Linked DNA regions of Homo sapiens: regions 1 and 3 are each linked to region 2. Evidence: promoter capture Hi-C in human tissues and cell types (Jung and others, 2019). All regions are on one chromosome and are shown on one strand. Each heading gives the region's core, a stretch centred on a gene start or on the middle of the fragment in contact. The rest is flanking DNA. Distances are from core to core; before and after follow the strand shown.

Region 1 (3,408 bases), core at 841-3,340, 800 kb before region 2:
TACATGTTGAATTAAAAGTTGATATAGTATATCCTTAGTCGACCCAAACTTTGGCCAGAAGATTGAGGGACTGAGGATAGGTCTTTGAGACCAAATAGAACAGCAATATTTTATCATTTGTTCCTTTGTCTTATGTTTAGTTCTCTTGTTATCTTTCCAACCTTTTAGCCTGAGACCTAAGGGGCTATCAGGTGGTATATCTTTGAGACCTTGGGGACTATCAGTGGTATATCTTTGTTGCTAACTTTATCTTTTTTGCTTGTATTATTTACCATACTGGGTCCTGGCTAGGCTCAATCCCTCGTATTAGGAATCTCTTGCCTAGTGGGGGCTTTCTGTGGCTCAACCCCTCATATTAGGGATCTCCTGCCTATTTGGGGGGTTCCTTCTGGCTCAACCCCTCGTATTAGGGGTCTCTTGCCTGTCCTTCACTGGAAGCTTTGCTAAGGCACAATTCGCCTATCCTTTAGCTCCACCTGCTGGAGATTCCTTGCACCCTTCTTTCACTGCAACCTTCACGCTCTGGCCGCTTCCCTTGAGGGAATGTTCCAGGTCACTTTTAGCATTCATGGGGGGTCAGTATAAACCCCTGACGGGACCCCCAAAGGGCCGCCCTAAGCCATATGAGATGACCACGGAACTGCAGATTGGTCTCACTCCGCACAGCAGTAGTGCTTGTTACCATTCATGCACTTTCAACCTCCAGAATGCCCCGACCCCCGCAAAACCACTAAAGAAGTAATTTGTTGCCCCTGCGACGTTTTCTACCTTGGTCTGTGCAGTTTACCTGGTCGCCGCAGTATTGCAAGTCTCTCTTCCCCGCGTTGCTGAGAGTCCAGGTTTATTCGTCACAACAGGTGGGTCTCGATCTCCCATCCCTGAGGGCCACCGCAACAGGGCAGTGGGAAGTGTCTCCCCTGGGTAGGGTGACTGAAGACCCCTTCCCGAAGGAGAATGGGAATCCCAGACGAGCCCCCAGAATTGTTGGATATAAAATGCTCTAGGATGAAATGCTCGGTGCCATGAAGTAAAACCAGCACTCAGGCAAAAGTTTAATTTCTCTCAGCAAGGTAATTTACTTCTGCGGAACGGTGCCACTTGTGTCAATCAAGATCACAAGAGCACAGAGAACAAAGGAGACCAGGGGATTTTTATCCTTAACACAGTCCCTATCTCTGTGTCACTCCCCCCATGGGCTGGGGTCAGACTGCACAATCTGAGCTGACCCAATTGGCCACTTGTACATATTTTCCTAACTATAGAAGGGGAGGGGGACATGAGTTACAGAGGTGGAGTGTGAGGCGTGCAGTTTCGGGGGAACAATGGGTACAGGTAACCAAGGGAACAGATGTGAATTATTGATTAAAGCTGACGAGAATGGGGTAGGCTGTTTACAGTAACTAGGGGTAAGGAAGAACAAGAAAGTTGAATTTGAGAACAAGGATAAGGAAGTTAGCAGGCTAAACCCTTTGAAGAGAGACTCAGATTTACTGCAGCTTACAATCTCTTCCTATGACTGCCTGGACCTGACAGTCCTCTTGCCGGACCAGATCTGTGTGGTATCTCGACAGTGCCTACATGGATTTTAATAGAAAATGAACACTTTTTTCTCCCTCTCATGTTTAAAGTAGATGTATGATCACTAATTTTTCCACTTTCATTTTTCTATGGGAGGAGTAACTTCGAGGTCTTGTGGAATGATGGTGTCCCACCCTTCCCCTGCCCAGCAACCCCTAAACACACACACATACACACACTTTCTATGGCTTTTAGCTCAGGCCATGGGAAAGGGGCAGCAATAGTGAGAGGTGACAACGTGTTAGCAGCCCTCGCTCACTCTCAGCGCCTCCCCGGCCTCAGCGTCCGCTCTGGCCACGCTTGAGGAGCCCTTTAGCCAGCCGCTGCACTGTGGGAGCCCCTCTCTGGGTTGGTCGAGGCCGGAGCCAGCTCCCTTGGCTGGCAGAGAGGTGTGGAGGGAGAGGCGCAGGTGGGAACCAGGGCTGCGCATGGGGCTCGCAGGCCAGCATGAGTTCCGGGTGGGCGCAGGCTCGGGGGCCCCCACACTCGGAGCGGCCGGCCGGCACCACAGGCCCCAGGCATTAAGGGGCTTAGCACCCGGGCCAGCAGCTGCAGAGGGTGCACCGGGTCCCCCAGCACTGACAGCCTGCCCACGCCGCACTTGAATTCTCACCGGGCCTCAGCCGCCTCCCCATGAGGCAGGGCTTGGGACCTGCGGCCTGCCATGCCCAAGCCACCCCCGACCGCCATGGGCTCGCATGCAGCCCGAGACTCCCCGACAGGCGCTGCCCGTCCCATCGACCGCCCAAGGGCTGAGGTGTGCAGGTGTGAGGCACAGGACTAGCAGGCAGCTCCACCCACAGCCCCAGTGCGGGATCCACTAGGGGAAGTCAGCTGGGCTCCTGAGTTGGGTGGGGTCTTGGAGAACTTTTGTCTAGCTGGAGGATTGTATATGCACCAAGCAGCACTCTCTGTCTAGCTCGGGGTTTGTGGATGCACCAATCAGCACTCTGTATCTAACTAACCTGGTGGGGACTTGGAAAACTTTTATGTCTAGCTAGAGGATTGTAAATGCACCAATCAGCACTCTGTGTCTAGCTCAAGGTTTGTAAACGCACCAATCAGTGCTCTGTGTCTAGCTAATCTAGCGGGGACTTGGAGAACTTGTGTCTAGCTAAAGGATTGTAAACGCACCAATCAGCACTGTGTCTAGCTAAAGGTTTGTAAACGCGTGTCTAGCTAATCTAGTGGGGACTTGGAAAATTTTTGTCTAGCTAGAGGCTTGTAAATGCACCAATCAGCACTCTGTGTCTAGCTCAGGGATTGTAAATGCACCAATCAGCACCCTGTCAAAACGGACCAATATGCTCTCTGTAAAATGGACCAATCAGCAGGATGTGGGTGGGGCCGGATAAGGGGATAAAAGCAGGCTACCCGAGCCAGCAGCGGCAAGCCACTCAGGTCCCCTTCCATGCTGTGGAAGCTTTGTTTTTTCACTCTTCACAATAAATCTTCCTGCTGGTCACTCTTTGGGTCCGCGCCGCCTTTAAGAGCTGTAACACTAACCGCAAAGGTCCGCAGCTTCACTCCTGAAACCAGCAAGACCACGAACCCACCGGAAGGAACTAACAACTCCAGATGCGCTGCCTTTAAGAGCCGTAACACTGCTAAGGTCTGCAGCTTCACTCCTAAGCGAGACCACAAACCCACCAGAAGTTAGAAACTCTGGACACGTCCGAACATCAGAAGGAACAAACTCCAGACACACCATGTTTAAGAATTGTAACACTCACCGTGAGGGTCCACGGCTTCATTCTTGAAGTCAGCAAGACCAAGAACCCACCAATTCCAGACACATTAGGGTGGTAGGCCAGGCATGGGGGAGATCCT
Region 2 (3,219 bases), core at 187-2,686:
CCGTGTTAGCCAGGATGGTTTCGATCTCCTGACCTCATGATCTGCCCGTGTTGGCCTCCCAAAGTGCTGGGATTACAGGCGTGAGCCACCGCGCCCAGCGAATACTTTCTTTATAGGATCAAAATTCCCATATTAAGCCAAAAGACAATGCTGAAAATGTCATAACCCTGAAAGTCACTTTGGGCCAAGGCCCACTGTCCCCATTGTTACTTTCATTGTGACAATAGTGTGGTGGGCAAGGAGGGAGGCCAGAGTCCGGTGGGAACTGGGTTTTAGGAGGAGGTATCTGAAGAATGTGTAGTGGGTCGGGGGCTGGTGCGGTCAGAAGGGCCACCTCTAATTTCTGCCTTGCATTGGTGACTAGATCTGCACTTTCTGGAACTCCCAGAGAAGTTTGCTGGTGCCTTTGAGGGCAGGTACAGGGCCTGCCTTATCCAGGTAGCCCTGGGGTGGGTGCGGGTGTCTCGGGCAGTAGGCAGGGGCTGAGGGGAGGCTTACCTCTGACACAAGACCTGGGTACAGCAAGGGCATGCAGTAGCATGATCAAAGTCCCCCCAGAGTGGTCCGGGCAGCGTCTCTAGTTGGGCCAGAGCTGGGCAGGTGGGGACCTGTGTTTCCCTCGAGGGGAGGCAGCCTCCCCTTCCCCTTCTGTGAGGCCCTGTAACAAGACCTACCTCGGATTTTCAGGAGGGCCAAATGCGAGGACATGTACAATACCAGCTCCGCAACTGACACCTAGTAAACAGTGAACGTAGCTGTTGCTATTATAACAAATACCTGTTCCCTGTGGAAAATGGTTAAATGTCAACTTATGCTTTTAAATGTCTATAGGGAAACTAGTTTTATGGACATTATTTATTCTTCTCATCTGCATTTGCAGTGTATCTCGGCCCAGCTGCTTCTAATTTTTTGCCATTATAAAACAGGGAACATGAGCATCTTGTGCAGGGTGGGTTTTTTGTTTTTTGTCTCACTGTGGCCTCGACCTCCCGGGCTCAGGTGATCCTCCTACCTCAGCCTCCTGAGTAGCTGGGACCACAGGTGCGCGCCACCACAGCCGGCTAATTAATTTTACTTGTGGAGACGGAGGTCTCCTACGTTGCCCAAGTTGGTCTCTAACTCCTCGGCTCAAGCGATCTTCGCGCCTTGGACTCCCACAGTGTTGGGATTACAACCGCGAGCCACCGTGCCCGGCTTTCTGCAAGTTCTTGATGACCGATGAGAGCCGGTGGGCCCAAACCCGGCGGGCCCTAACCCGGCTTCACGCTCCGCCCGGCCCGGCCCGGCCCGGCCGTCCATACTTCCCTCCGGTGTCCACCAGAGGGCGAACGGGAGACGCGAATGTGGTTCGACTACGCATGCGCACGCCGCTGGGCGCACGTGCGGAGGGCGGCGGGGCGGGAGGGTAAAGGTAGGAGGTGAGAGGTGAAGGGGCGGGCACCCGGCGGCCAGGAGAGAGAGGGAGGGCGCCACGCACCGGACTGCGGGCCGAGAGCGCGCACGCCGCGCTCCGCCCCTGCTGCCGCCCCCGTCGCCGCCGCCGCCGCCGCCGCAGCTTGGGAGGTGCTGCCACCACAGGTACCGTCACGCGGGTGCTCAGGGCGCCTGCCCGCGGGCCCCAGCTCGACCCCAGCCGCGTGGAGCTGGGAGTTCCGGAATGGGGGCCGCTAGGTTCGGGGGTGCGTGGGCATGGCGCTGTCCAGCAGCCGTGCGGGCCGGCCCTGGAGACCGCAGGCCGGCAAGGAGGCAGGGCCGCGCGTCCCCACCCCCAACCCGGCCGTGTCCCTGCACCGGCCGGCCCCTGGAGCTCCGCGTCCCCACCAGACCTCCGCGGGCCCCTGGTGTGACGGGGGGAGATGCGCGGCGTCGCATCCCCTGGCCTAGTTGCTCCGGGAAGCTGTTGTAGAACCTGCTTTGGTGCTGTTTGGGTTTTCCGGAGTGCGGGGGAGAGCAGGTTCTCCACTTTGCCTCTTTTGGAAGATCTTATTGAGAGACAACGCTAGTTGCTTTGCTGGTTTTGCTTGGTTTCTAGTTTTCCGTATTGCTTAAACCTCAACTTTGCTCACTAATGTTGCTTCTGTTTACTTCTGAGTGGGTTTATGACCTCAGTATTTAACCGGCTTATAATGTCACGATAGCGTTAGTTGCAGGGAGCCCTGGCTCCGGACTGTTTGAATCACAGAAAGTTGTGCAGATGGGAATGCGGAGGGGGGGGCAGTGAGTCGCTGTGGGGGCTCTGGCAGGGGTCAGCCCCTGGTTCGGGTCACTCACTGCTCCACCTTGTATGGCGACAGTCGGAGCTAGGTGAATAAACTCTTTCTGGGGATTTTGTAATACTTATCGTGAAGCGGCCATAGAAAAGGTTTAATGTTAGCGTTGCGTGTGTTTCTTTTATTTGGCCAAAAATTTGTGGAGTTTGGTTATGCCGTGTCTTTATTGGTTTGCTGTCAGGTCAGGATATTGAGCAAAAGACTGACGCTTTTATTAGGGAGTCAGGGTCGAGGGTGTCTAGTTAGTGCTGTATCCATTTTAGGTGTTCCTCAGTGATGCCTAAAGACTTGTTTTTTGTTTGTTTGTTTGGAGACAGGGTCTCACTCTGTCTCCCAGGCTGGAGTGCAGTGGCGCGATCTCGGCTCACTGCAGCCTTGATTTCCTGGGCTCAGGTGATCCTCCCACCTCAGCCTCCCCAGTAGCTGGGACAGCAGGTGTGTGCCACCACGCCCGGCTAATTTTTGTATTTTTTTGTAGAGATGGGGGTCTTGCTGTGTTGCCCAGGCTGGTCTTTAACTCCTGGGCTCAAGCATTATACAAGCCTTGGCCTCCCAAAGTGTTGGTATTACAGGCGTGAACCACCGTGCCCGGCCAAGACCTGTATCTTTTAAAATGTGTGTTAATATAGTTTACATTTTAGGTGTTTTACACATTTGCAGTATTCCCACTGAGCACATGATGTAAAAAACACTATATAAATATATTTAACACTGTATAAATATATTTCCATATTTATTCTTTTGGTCATAAATTGAAATGGAAAGAATTAGGCTTTTTAAATTTATTATGAACTGATCTGATGTTTGAATGCTCTCTCTTTTCTTTCTTTCTTTTTTTTTTTGAGATGGAGTCTCGCTCTGTCGCCCAGGCTGGAGTGCAGTGGCGCCATCTCGGCTCACTGCACCCTCCGCCTGCCGGGTTCAAGCGATTCTCCTGCCTCAGCCTCCC
Region 3 (3,244 bases), core at 379-2,878, 680 kb before region 2:
GCCCTTTCGCCCAGGCTGGAATGCAGTGGCACAATCTCGGCTCACTGCAGCCTCCTCCTCCCGGGTTCAAGCATTTCTCTGCCTCAGCCTCCCAAGTAGCTGGGATTACAGGCACCTGCCACCACGCCCAGCTAATTTTTTGTAGTTTTAGTAGACACAGGGTTTCACTATCTTGGCCAGGCTGGTCTCGAACTCCTGACCTCGTGATCCACCGCCTCAGCCTCCCAAAGTGCTGGAATTACAGGTGTGAGCCACCGCGCCCAGCCAAACTCCTTTTAACCACAGGCAAATGGTTTAAGCTACGTGCTGCAGAGGAAGCTGCTGCCCATCCCTCATGAGCAGCTAACAAAGGCCCCAAACCACTGAGCTTCAAGAGAAAATCAGCAGATACTCTTGGCTCTTGTGTACCAGATACCTTTCTAGATACTGAGGGAGAAGAGCAGTGAACAAAACAGACCAAAAAATCTCTGCCTTCATGGAACTTACATTTCGGAGTGGACAGGAGATCGAGACCAGCCTGGCCAACATGGTGAAATCCCGTCTCTACTAAAAATACAAAAATTAGCCAGGCGTGGTGGCGGACACCTGTAATCCCAGCTACTTTGGAGGCTGAGGCAGGAGCATCCCTTGAACCCAGGAGGCAGAGGTTGCAGTGAGCCGAGATCGCGCCAGTGCACTCCAGCCTGGGCGACAGAGTGAGACTCCATCTCAAAAAAAAAAAAAAAAAGGTGACTGGGTGCGGTGGCTAACTCCTGTAATCCCAACACTTTGGGAGGCCAAGGCAGGTGGATCACAAGGTCAAGAGGTCGAGACCATCCTGGCCAACATGGTGAAGCCCCATCTCTACTAAACATACAAAAATCAGCTGGGCGGTGGCACGCGCCTGTAGTCCCAGCTATTTGGGAGGCTGAGGCAGGAGAATTGCTTGAACCCGGGAGACGGAGATTGCAGTGAGCCTGAGGTCACGCCCTTGCACTCCAGCCTGGTGACAGAGTGAGATTCTGTCTCAGAAAAAAGAAGGTGCTTCAGAGGAAAATAAGGCCAGTGGTGGAGCTCCCAGGCAGGCTGGAGGAACAGTAGTGGGGCTGCAGGGGCTGGCGTGGGGTGAACAAGGGGCAGAGCAGCAGTAGGGGCCTGTAGAGCTGTAGGCCTCTGAAGGACTTGGGGCCTCGGGCTTTTTCACCAAGGGCGAGGCAGTAAGCAGCCATTGGCTGGATATTGAAGACCATTCAGTCCAAGTAGAGGATAGAAACAGGGCCCCGAGGCAGGAGCAAGTTCAGCCTCTTTAAAAGCCACAGAAAGAAACAAGCCCACTTATGTAGAAGGAGGTGAGTGAGGGAGCCTGGCTGAAGAGAAGGCTGGGGTGGAGAAAGCAAGGGGAAGCTGGCTCATATAGTGAAAACTTGCCACAAACTGTGGTGGTGAAGGTGCTGGGCAGGACTCAGATGCTAGGATTGTTGGAGAAAGGAAAATTGGGGAAGAGACCATCTACTGGCACTGGCTGTGAGTGCTGCTCATGTGGCCAGGAACTTGCAACTCAGCACTGATTGTTTCTAAGAATAAATGTCAAGTTGGGAAGATGTGTATAAGGGGGACTTAGACCACAACTGCTGCTTTGACTGCGTTGCCTTGTTGCTGTGCTGGAAAAGCTAACCCTGCTTTGGCCTTCCTTCCCCTGACTAGGTGCCGGTATGTGAGAGAGAGAGATCGCCTGGGTAATGAATACCCCAAACTCCACTACCCTGAGCTGTATGTCCTGAAGGGGGGATACAAGGAGTTCTTTATGAAATGCCAGGTAAGACTGGGGTTGTGGAGAGCATCTCTCCTCCCCTGCCCCCAGTGGTAGACTAATGGATCTGTCTGGTGGTCATGACTTTCTTTCCAGGGGTCGGGGGACAAGGTGGGTATCTGCTGAACCCAAAGAAAGCCCCTGTAGAACTGGCTCCCTAGGTCTGCCTGGCCGCTTTCAGCCTTGTAGCCCTAGGCAGAGAGGAAACCAGGTTGTGGGTGTGAGGCAGGTGTACCCTAACCTTATTCTCTCCTGTCCCCTCAGTCTTACTGTGAGCCCCCTAGCTACCGGCCCATGCACCACGAGGACTTTAAAGAAGACCTGAAGAAGTTCCGCACCAAGAGCCGGACCTGGGCAGGGGAGAAGAGCAAGAGGGAGATGTACAGTCGTCTGAAGAAGCTCTGAGGGCGGCAGGACCAGCCAGCAGCAGCCCAAGCTTCCCTCCATCCCCCTTTACCCTCTTTGCTGCAGAGAAACTTAAGCAAAGGGGACAGCTGTGTGACATTTGGAGAGGGGGCCTGGGACTTCCATGCCTTAAACCTACCTCCCACACTCCCAAGGTTGGAGCCCAGGGCATCTTGCTGGCTACGCCTCTTCTGTCCCTGTTAGACGTCCTCCGTCCATATCAGAACTGTGCCACAATGCAGTTCTGAGCACCGTGTCAAGCTGCTCTGAGCCACAGTGGGATGAACCAGCCGGGGCCTTATCGGGCTCCAGCCATCTCATGAGGGGAGAGGAGACGGAGGGGAGTAGAGAAGTTACACAGAAATGCTGCTGGCCAAATAGCAAAGACAACCTGGGAAGGAAAGGTCTTTGTGGGATAATCCATATGTTTAATTTATTCAACTTCATCAATCACTTTATTTTATTTTTTTTTCTAACTCCTGGAGACTTATTTTACTGCTTCATTAGGTTGAAATACTGCCATTCTAGGTAGGGTTTTATTATCCCAGGGACTACCTCGGCTTTTAATTTAAAAAAAAAAAAGAAGTGGGTAAGAAAATGCAAACCTGTTATAAGTTATCGGACAGAAAGCTAGGTGCTCTGTCACCCCCAGGAGGCGCTGTGGTACTGGGGCTGCTGCTATTTAAGCCAAGAACTGAGGTCCTGGTGAGAGCGTTGGACCCAGGCTTGGCTGCCTGACATAAGCTAAATCTCCCAGACCCACCACTGGCTACCGATATCTATTTGGTGGGAGGTGTGGCCCTGTTCTTCCTCACCCCAGTTCCATGACATTGGCTGGTATAGGAGCCACAGTCAGGAAAGCACTTGAGGCAGCATCTGTTGGGCCACCCCCGGCTCAGTGCTGGAATGTTGCAGTGTAGGTTTCCCAGGGAAGGGGGGTGGGGGTAGGTGGGCTCCACAGGATGGGGGAGGAGCATGTCCACTGAGTATCTTCCTTATGTTGCTGTGATATTGATAGCTTTTATTTTCTAATTTTTAAAAAATGGTCAT

Evidence for each region. The method cuts DNA at HindIII sites, captures the fragments that hold promoters and counts their contacts. A contact is called where the count stands out against the background at its distance.
Region 1: a contact is called between a fragment that was not itself captured here and the fragment with the promoter of SCAP in region 2, in 1 of the 25 tissues and cell types used here (dorsolateral prefrontal cortex).
Region 3: a contact is called between a fragment that was not itself captured here and the fragment with the promoter of SCAP in region 2, in 1 of the 25 tissues and cell types used here (dorsolateral prefrontal cortex).

Annotation. Positions count from the first base shown.
Region 1 is chr3:48,270,873-48,274,280 of GRCh38, reverse strand. ZNF589 (zinc finger protein 589) reads right to left here. Exons shown (of 4, transcript NM_016089.3): 4 at 3,291-3,408. Among named protein-coding and RNA genes, the nearest start is that of NME6, 29 kb to the left of the region's middle. The HindIII fragment of the contact is 5,059 bases long and covers 1-3,408 here.
Region 2 is chr3:47,474,158-47,477,376 of GRCh38, reverse strand. SCAP (SREBF chaperone) reads left to right here and starts at 1,436. Exons shown (of 23, transcript NM_012235.4): 1 at 1,436-1,578. LOC105377073 (a long non-coding RNA gene) reads right to left here and starts at 1,432. Exons shown (of 3, transcript XR_940821.3): 1 at 1,013-1,432; 2 at 675-735. RefSeq lists a silencer at 1,349-1,888. The HindIII fragment of the contact is 11,347 bases long and covers 1-3,219 here.
Region 3 is chr3:48,157,895-48,161,138 of GRCh38, reverse strand. It overlaps CDC25A (cell division cycle 25A), which reads left to right. Exons shown (of 15, transcript NM_001789.3): 14 at 1,684-1,795; 15 at 2,054-3,244. The coding sequence ends at 2,194. Among named protein-coding and RNA genes, the nearest start is that of CDC25A, 29 kb to the left of the region's middle. The HindIII fragment of the contact is 7,323 bases long and covers 1-3,244 here.